Linked DNA regions of Homo sapiens: regions 2 and 3 are each linked to region 1. Evidence: promoter capture Hi-C in 16 types of primary human blood cells and fetal thymus (Javierre and others, 2016). All regions are on one chromosome and are shown on one strand. Each heading gives the region's core, a stretch centred on a gene start or on the middle of the fragment in contact. The rest is flanking DNA. Distances are from core to core; before and after follow the strand shown.

The links. Contacts are between HindIII fragments. The CHiCAGO score rates a contact against its expected background, and 5 or more counts as called.
Region 2: a fragment that was not itself captured here is called in contact with the fragment with the promoter of TCTN3 in region 1 in 9 of 17 cell types (naive CD4 T cells, megakaryocytes, non-activated CD4 T cells and 6 more); the score reaches 14.5 in naive CD4 T cells.
Region 3: a fragment that was not itself captured here is called in contact with the fragment with the promoter of TCTN3 in region 1 in 1 of 17 cell types (naive CD4 T cells); the score reaches 5.7 in naive CD4 T cells.

What each region holds. Positions count from the first base shown.
Region 1 is chr10:95,692,159-95,695,231 of GRCh38, reverse strand. It overlaps TCTN3 (tectonic family member 3), which reads left to right and starts at 1,305. Exons shown (of 14, transcript NM_015631.6): 1 at 1,305-1,588; 2 at 1,756-1,879; 3 at 2,194-2,312. The coding sequence starts at 1,333. It also overlaps a transcript of ENTPD1 not described here. RefSeq lists enhancers at 345-846, 1,321-1,600. The HindIII fragment of the contact is 4,584 bases long and covers 1-2,574 here.
Region 2 is chr10:96,293,102-96,295,939 of GRCh38, reverse strand. No RefSeq gene overlaps it. Among named protein-coding and RNA genes, the nearest start is that of DNTT, 9.9 kb to the left of the region's middle. The HindIII fragment of the contact is 1,351 bases long and covers 651-2,001 here.
Region 3 is chr10:96,344,475-96,347,519 of GRCh38, reverse strand. It overlaps OPALIN (oligodendrocytic myelin paranodal and inner loop protein), which reads left to right. Exons shown (of 6, transcript NM_033207.5): 6 at 1,403-3,045. The coding sequence ends at 1,579. Among named protein-coding and RNA genes, the nearest start is that of OPALIN, 13 kb to the left of the region's middle. RefSeq lists an enhancer at 1,882-2,648. The HindIII fragment of the contact is 6,945 bases long and covers 1-3,045 here.

The sequences.
Region 1 (3,073 bases), core at 56-2,555:
TAATTACAATTTAAAAATTAAAAATTCAGGCCAGGCACAGCGACTCACAGCTGTAATCCCAGCACTTTAGGAGGCCAAGGCGGGAGGGTCACTTGAGGTCAGGAATTCGAGACCAGCCTGGACAACATGGTGAAACCCCATCTCTACTAAAAATAAAAATAAAATTAGCCGGGCGTGGTGGCGCGTGCCTGTCATCCCAGCTACTCAGGAGGCTGAAACAGAAGAATCACCTGAATCCTAGAGGCAGAGGTTGCAGTGAGCTGAGATCACACCACTGCACTCCAGCCTGAGCGACAGAGCGAAACACCGTCTCAAAAAAAAAAAAAAAAAAAAAAATCAGCTCCTCAGTCACGCTAGCCACATTTCAAGCGCACAATTGCCACATAAGGCCGGTGACTACCATGCTGGACAGTGCAGCTACGGTACATTTCCAATACCGAAGGAAAGTCCCATGGCCCGCGCTGCTGTGGGGAATCGGAAGAGGCACGCCATTCCCGGGAAGAACAAAAACCTCCTAGAGAGGCTTAAAAAATTTGCCATTAACACGGGGAAAAAAATCTTCTATTTCCATTCCTCCATCTTATTTTCTCACCTCCTAGACAATGTTTCTTTTTTTTATTCTTTCTCTCCCTATTTTCTCACATTTTTCCTGCCCTTTTTTCTTATTTTTCTCTCACTGCTTTTTCTAACAACAAACATGCAGTCCATCTTTAATGATTTGATGCATTTCTTTAGGGTTTTCAAAATTTCTCAATGTTAAAATGTAAGGAGCTGAATGAACATTATTTCTAATGTGTTTTTTTTTTTTTTAAAAAAGCCATATTTAGAGGAGACTGTTTTTTAAGGTATGTGACCTTAGGTGTGTTTCCCCCACCTGAGAACATTATTCTTCCATAGAAAGGGTTTCTCACCGTTGGAATCCGGGGTGAAAAAAAATTTGCAATTCTAGTTCCGGCCTCTGGGGTTTCCTTGCACCGGAGGCCGGGCTCAGTCCTCTGGGCCGCGAAGTGGGCGCGGAACCTCTCGGTCCGCCGAACTCCTACCGCCACCTAGCGGAAGGAAGGCGCAAGGGCTTCTTCGTCACTGACGGTTGCCAGGCAACGGAGGCACGGCCCGGCCCGCGTTAAGGAGGAGGGCGCAGACCGAAGGACACTGAAAGAGCTGTAACAACCCCACTTTCGATTGGTTGAAGAGCTCTCAGCCTTCTCATGAGCCAATGAGAAGAGGCACGCGGATGGCGTCAGACGCTATGCGACTCCTCCCACCCACGCTCTGGCAATGCGATTGGAGACCGCGGAGGCCTACGTCGGACCCGGAGGCCCTGAATGCCCCATGCGCACCCCACAGCTCGCGCTCCTGCAAGTGTTCTTTCTGGTGTTCCCCGATGGCGTCCGGCCTCAGCCCTCTTCCTCCCCATCAGGGGCAGTGCCCACGTCTTTGGAGCTGCAGCGAGGGACGGATGGCGGAACCCTCCAGTCCCCTTCAGAGGCGACTGCAACTCGCCCGGCCGTGCCTGGACTCCCTACAGTGGTCCCTACTCTCGTGACTCCCTCGGCCCCTGGGAATAGGACTGTGGACCTCTTCCCAGGTGAGGGAAAACGTTGTGGGGGTGGAAACTTACTTCTGAGATCTAAAATTCTGTGAGCAAAGTTGAGCTGCCACAAAGCAGGAGTGGGGCTGTCGGAAGAAGGAGGGTGAGCACCTGGGAGAGTTTGGGGATCTTCATCCCACTCACTCTGTGTCGTACTTTCATAGTCTTACCGATCTGTGTCTGTGACTTGACTCCTGGAGCCTGCGATATAAATTGCTGCTGCGACAGGGACTGCTATCTTCTCCATCCGAGGACAGTTTTCTCCTTCTGCCTTCCAGGCAGCGTAAGGTGAGCTTCGTTGCTCAGACTGAATCCTAAAGGGGTTTGGGGCCTACAACGGGTAACATTTGGATGTAAGAAGAGTTAGTCTTTGTGCCTCCCACCCGTACTTCCACTCCTAGGACATTCCCTTGGTTTTTCCTAGGAATTGCCTTTTCTGATTCTCTAGAGCAGGGCTGGCCAGTAGAATAAGACCTTCGTGTCGTCCTATAGGTGCCCAAGGAGTCCTCTTTGGCATCATCTGGCCGATATTGCTGGGACACTCTTTTTTGGACCTGCCCCGCCCCTTCTAAATATATCTTCTCCCTCCTCTTTCCTCACAGGTCTTCAAGCTGGGTTTGTGTAGACAACTCTGTTATCTTCAGGAGTAATTCCCCGTTTCCTTCAAGAGTTTTCATGGATTCTAATGGAATCAGGCAGTTTTGTGTCCATGTGAACAACTGTGAGTAGAAACATGTTGGTTGTTCTCATTTTCTAACACAGGAGTGTTATATTTTGTCTTCCCTGGCCCACATTGGAAGAAGAATTGTCTTGGGCCACACGTAAAATACACTAACGATAGCTGATGAGTTAAAAACAACAACAAAAAAAAAGCAAAAAAAATGTCAAATGTTTTAAGAAAGTTTACAAATTTGTGTTGTTGGGCTGCATTCATAAGCCGTCCTGGGCTGCATGCGGCCGGTGGGTTGCAGGTTGGACAAGCTTGGTCTAACATTTATTGAGAATTGGCTTTTATTCTGGCCTTTTTTCCATTTCTTTTTTTTAAACTTTTTTTTTTTTTGTCCTTTGAATCTCTACGCCTCTTTCTGCCTCTTCTCTCTTATTACGGAATACATTTGCATTTTTGTTTTTTTTTGAGACGGAGCCTCCACCTATCGCCAGGAGTGCAGTGCAGTGGCACGATCTCAGCTCACTGCAACCTCCACCTCCCGGATTAAAGTGATTCTCCTGCCTTAGCTTCCCGAGTAGCTGGGACTATGGGTGTGTGCCACCATGACCAGCTAATTTTTGTATTTTTAGTAGAGACGGGGTTTTGCAATGTTGGCCAGGATGGTCTTGATCTCTTGACCTCATGGGCCACCCACCTCGACCCCCAAAGTGCTGGGATTACAGGTGTGAGCCACCGCGCCTGGCCACATTTGCAACTTTTTATGTTCTGTTGGCTATGGATCAGAAAACTCATAAAGAACTTTAATTTCAATC
Region 2 (2,838 bases), core at 77-2,576, 600 kb before region 1:
GTAGACAAGTATGGCTCGTCTTCCCATTTAGAGTGTAACCTTCTTTGTATGTCTTAGAGGGCTTAGCACATGTCTTTGTACATAGATGACAGCCCAAAGTATAGGCTGTGAACACCATTCCTCTTCCATCCAGAGAGACCAGTGAGAATTCTGTCAGTGACACACCCCTAATGCATAGAAGGGGAGAGCTCAGGCCCACAAGTGTTTGTGCCAAACCATTTATCTAAAGCTGGTTTTGCTGGGGATGCAGCCAAAACCCTCTCTTATTCTTTGCCAGGAAGTGAAAGTCTTTCATCACCACCTGGGAGGAAAAAGGGGTTCAACGGCCCAGCAGAAACAATGTCACATCGTGAATTTGGTACCAAACTCAGCTCTCAATGCAACGAATTTGAGATTTATTTTAAACGTGTGTTTCTCAGAGAGAATAATTTGATGGGGGTAGGGGGAAGTAGGGACTCACTTTCAACATAGTAATCTTTTTTTATAAAGCTCTGTGAGTAATTGTTTACTTTTTAAAAATAACAAAATCTCATATTCAATATTTTTAAATTGTGGAGGTAATAGTTTATAATTAGGTGCTAAATGGTGTGATTATATTTAACTGAAATGTTTTAACTTGGTGAAAAAGGGCCTAGCTCCTTTCCAAAGCTTCTGAGAGAGCAGATTACTTATTCTCAGCGGAAGTAAACCTATGTACTACTAGTAAATCTCAGCTCTATTAGAAAGGGCAGAAGAGTGTCCAACAGAAAGAACTTCTACTGGAGGAAGAGGTTTGCCTTAGATAACTTAGGAGGAGGGCACAGGGAGAGAAGGGGAAGAGTGCCAGGAAAATCCAAGAGGAGGCTGGCAGCTCTTAGAGGAAAACTAGGTAAATTCCACACATTGGAGTCTCCCAGATCACCAGGGTGTCTTAGTCACTTCAGGATGCTGTAACAAAATTACCAGAGAAGTTTATTTCTCTCCATTCTAGAGTCTGGGAAATCCAACATCAAGGTGCCAGCTGAAAAGTTTCCTGGTGAGGGCACTAGCTCTGGTTTGCAGATGGCCACCTTCTTGCTGTATCCTCACATGGTGGGGAACGAGATCATCTCTCTCGTGTTTCCTCCTTTAAGGGCACTAATCCCGTTCAGGAGGGCTCCACACTCATGTCCTAATTACTCCCAAAGGTATAACTCCAAATACACCTAATCTCAAATGGGGGATTAAGGCAAAAACATGTGAATTTGTGGATGAAACAAACATTCAGCCCAGAGCAATGGATACAAAGCAAAAACAAACAAACAAAAACCCAGTTTGCCTGTTACATGAATACATTGTTACATAAATATTTGTTCTCTGTGTAGAACTTTGGTTCACAACCCTGGCTACACAATAAACTACCTGAGTTTTTAAAATATCAGTGAACAGGCTCCATTGCACACTAATAGAATCTGAATCCCAAAGGGTGGGGGTGGGGGTGAGTATTCATGTTTTTTACAAACTCCATAGTTATCCTCCTGTGCCACCGACCTTGAAAAACCACTGGTTTAGAATATTTGTTGAGCACGGCTGAGATGGATAACTCCAGTTGTCCTCCTTCATGTAAAGCTAAAAAGATAGAGAGGCATAGACTCCTTCCCTACTCTCTATTGATATTTGGGTTTGTTAAATTAAACAACTACTTTTAATTGGTGAGGCATTTTCCTTTATAGTCTGGACAACTCAAACTTGCACCACCAAGCCCTTGCCAGATGGCAGAAAGCAGGGCATTGGAAGGTATTTCCTCCCTGTTGAGTACCAGCTCCACTTCACCAGCCAACCCATGAGACAGTGTTCTACAATGCCACAAAGACAAATAGCCACATGCGTCTCCCATGTACCCGGATACCACCTTGAAGGGAAGGGACAGAACTTTGAAAGATATTACATTTCCTGAAGTTATCAAAGCAGAGAAAACTGAATTATCTGATGGGACAGTTAAAACTATTGGATTGGACTGAAATGGCAAGATGGAACTAAGCTTTAGTTCTTTTCCCACATCCCAGCAAGAAGAAAGTAAATCAGCTCTTCTATAGACAAAATAACAAAGCTCACATTTTCTCTGTATACATAAGGAAAGGTGAGGGATTTTGGACCCTGAAACATGAGTTTATGAATATACACATGCATACATCCATTTGCATGTGCATATGTGGATATGCACATTCACGCACTGTAGACCAAGGCAGAGAAAACTAGGACTTAAGAGTGCAGCCAACAGTGGGCTGCACCTGGCGTGTTCTGGGATTCTGGTGGCAGAGAAGGAATACCGGCTTCTTGGGAGCAAATCCTGACATACAAGTGTGGGAAATGCGGCAAAATGAAACTTGTTGAGCGCTGTTGACAAGACAATTTTTCTGGGAACTAGTGCAGTCATTCAGTGAGCCGGCCAGACAGAGCAGAGTTCATTTCAGATGTTTCTATTGTCCCAGACATGGGAGTTCTACTTGTCACCATTTGGTGTCAGTATTTTCTATCCTAAAAGTCCTCTGGGTTATAAAGCAAAGGCCCTGTTGGAGAAAGTCTGGAGTATTTTACTGTGAATAACTAACTTTATTTCAGAAAATTTTAATATTCCTTTTAGCCTTCACTGCTTTGTTTTCTGCTTTGTAATTGTTTTTCTTTGTGCAGAAAAAAGGCAGCATTCTCTTTATCTGCAAAGGCAAACATCAGAATTACACCATTCATTCATTTGACCAACAAATCTTGAGGACCAGCATCTTGTAACACAAGTCCCTCCACCTACAGAGCTTTTCGGATTCTAGAGGGCAACATGCTCAGGGCAGAGGCAGGTGTTGGAGGCAGCAGTTCTGTAGAAAG
Region 3 (3,045 bases), core at 377-2,876, 650 kb before region 1:
AGCCGGGTGACAAGAGCAAGACTCCATCTCAAAAAAAAAAATTAGAAAGTGTAACACTGAAAAGGAAGAAACAAAATTGTCATTATTTGCAGATGGTATGATTGTCGACATAGAAAAGCTAAATCTGGCTGGGTGCGGTGGCTCACGCCTGTAATCTCAGCACTTTGGGAGGCCAAGGCAGGTGGATCACCTGAGGTCAGGAGTTCTAGACCAGCCTGGCCAACATGGTGAACCCCATCTCTACTAAAAACACAAAAGTTAGCCAGGTGTGGTGGCAGGTGCCTGTAATCCCAGCTACTTCGTGGGGGGCTGAAGCAGGAGAATCACTTGAACCTGGGAGGCAGAGGTTGCAGTGAGCTGAGATCACACCATCACACTCCAGCCTGGGGGACAAGAGTGAGACTTCATCTTAAAAAAAGAAAAAAAAAAGAAAGAAAGGAAGAAAGAAAGAAAGAAAAGAAAAGCTAAATCTACAGAAAAATTACTTGAATTAACAAGAAATTTTAACAAGTTTACTGGATACAAAAATCAATATATAAAAGTAATTTATACTTTCAACATCAACAACAATTAGAAAAAGTGATTTTAAAAATTACCATTTGTGATGGTAATTGGTATTAAAATATGTAGAATGCTATGGAATAAATCTAACAAAAATATGTAATACCTTTATGGAAAATAATAAAACTTTGGTTAAAAAACCCATTAAATAATACCTAAATAATGGGGGTTGCATACTATGCTCCTGGATAGAAAGTGTTAATAACATAACGATGTCAAACAATGTTGATCTATATAACAGATGTAATTTCAATATAAATCCCAATCAATTTTTTTCATGGAACTTAATGAGGTTCTTCTAAAATCTATATGAAATAAAGTAGAAAAAGAGTTAAAAAGACACAACAAACAGGTAGAACAAACAGAAAACAAATAGCAAGATGGTAGATTTAAACCCAACCATATCAATGATCACATTAAATGTAAATGGTCTAGATACCCGAATTAACAGGAAGAGATTTCACATTGGCTATAAAAACAAGGTCCAATCATATGATGCCTACAAAACTCACTTTAAATATAAATACACAAATAGATTAACAGTTAAAAGACAAAAAATGAGAAACTTTGTTAACAATAAACAAAAGATAGTTGAGTGGCCTGAAAGCTCTCCCAAAGCAGTAAGATCAGGTAATTGTGGGTCTCTCCTCATTTGTTTTCTGTCTCTCCAGGACCATTGTCCCTCCTTGCCTGTTGTCTAGTGTCTTGAAAACTATTGCTTCAAATGTTGTGTCTGATTTTGGTTATTTCAGGTGGGAGGGTCAATGTGGTTGCTGTTAGTCCATCTTGTATGAAAGAATTCTCTGCTGTAGTTTTTAAAAAACCTATTTGTTTCCTTAAGAATCCTAGGAGATCACCCACACATGAGAAGAATACGATGGGAGCACAAGAGGCCCACATATATGTGAAGACTGTAGCAGGAAGCGAGGAACCTGTGCATGACCGTTACCGTCCTACTATAGAAATGGAAAGAAGGAGGGGATTGTGGTGGCTTGTGCCCAGACTGAGCCTGGAATGATGCAGCTCAGTCAAGGAGCAGCAGACCTGGCACTGGAACAGGGTTGAAAACCCAGGGTTTTGTACTTGGAGAGGAAAGATGCCAAGCTGCTTCTTAATCAATCCAAATTTCATTTACAGCTCTGGAACACTTTGGGGCTGATTTGTCTCTTTAGGGGACATCCCCAACATGGTTAATTCCAACTCTCAGATCTTGTGCTTTAGTTAGTACATGTGACTCACCAGATGGGGTCCTTAGATCCTATTCCTGCTCCCAGTGGGAATTTGCTTTTCTTTGTCATTTTGGGAAAGGGGCTTGGTTTCTGAGTGTCTTGCCTTCTCATCTTTTTTTTTCATATCCTTTTTCTCAAAAAAGCCATCAGATCTGACTTTCATGGAAGTGTTGCTGAGGTCAGCCTGGTGCAAGTTGGGATACAAATGAAACTTATGCAGGATGTGTGAGAGGAAGCAGTTAATTGTTTCTGAATATCTCAGGGTAGGAACCATGTGGAGCCACACATTCCCTGACCACAGGGAAGCACCTGGCTCAATCATGTCACACAGCAGTGGAAAGAATACGGACTCTTAAGTCACACCTACCACTGAGCAGCTGTACGACTTTGGAGAAGTTGTTTAACATTTTCAAGCCTCAGTTTTTGCTTTTTTAAAGGAGGGGAAATATTTGCCTCATGTCATAATTGAAAAGATTAAATAAGAAATAAAGGGAAGTGTCTGCTACTTAGTTGCCAGTCAAAATGTTAGTTCTCTCTCTCTACCACCTTCTTCCTACCTCTTCCCATATTGCTTGCCTGATAAAACAGCTAATCACCAGCATTTGTTCCCCATAGTCACAGGGCCACACAAGGGAACATTTAGGACAAACTTTCTCCATGGCCTATGATCCAAATTGTTATCTAAAGATGATTCTAGGTGTTGCTGGTAGTATGTGAATCTTCCAATCTAGGTGTGATCGTGTCCTCATATGAATCAGGAAAAGGCAGTTTCTTACAAGTTCCGAATTCCAAATACAGAGACTGGTGGTGTTACATTTAACCTTAAAGATGTTAATGTTGATGGAAATTCATGTTTCATATTAAAACAACACTTTGTCTTTACAATGAAACATTTTGCTTAATTTTTAAAGTAAGACATTATGATACCTCTGATGGCAGTTCCTCAAATAACTTTAACTTTTGTGCTTTAGGGATAGTTGTTAAAGTTACAACTTCTTTTATTTTATTTTTTAAAGGCTTCAGATTAAACAAGAGCCCTTAAGCCCACGCATAGCATTGCCGCTTCAGCTTGCTGAGGACTGTCTCCAAGGAGGCCAAATGGAAAAGGAGAGGCTACTTCAAGTGGTGTTGGCCCATTGAGCCTATTGGGCAAACTATAACCAGGTTGCCTTATTTTGGGTGGATTACTCCAGGAGAGGCCACCCTCCAGCTTTCTCTTATCCCAGTAACTCCTCTTCCCATTTTCCAATCCATC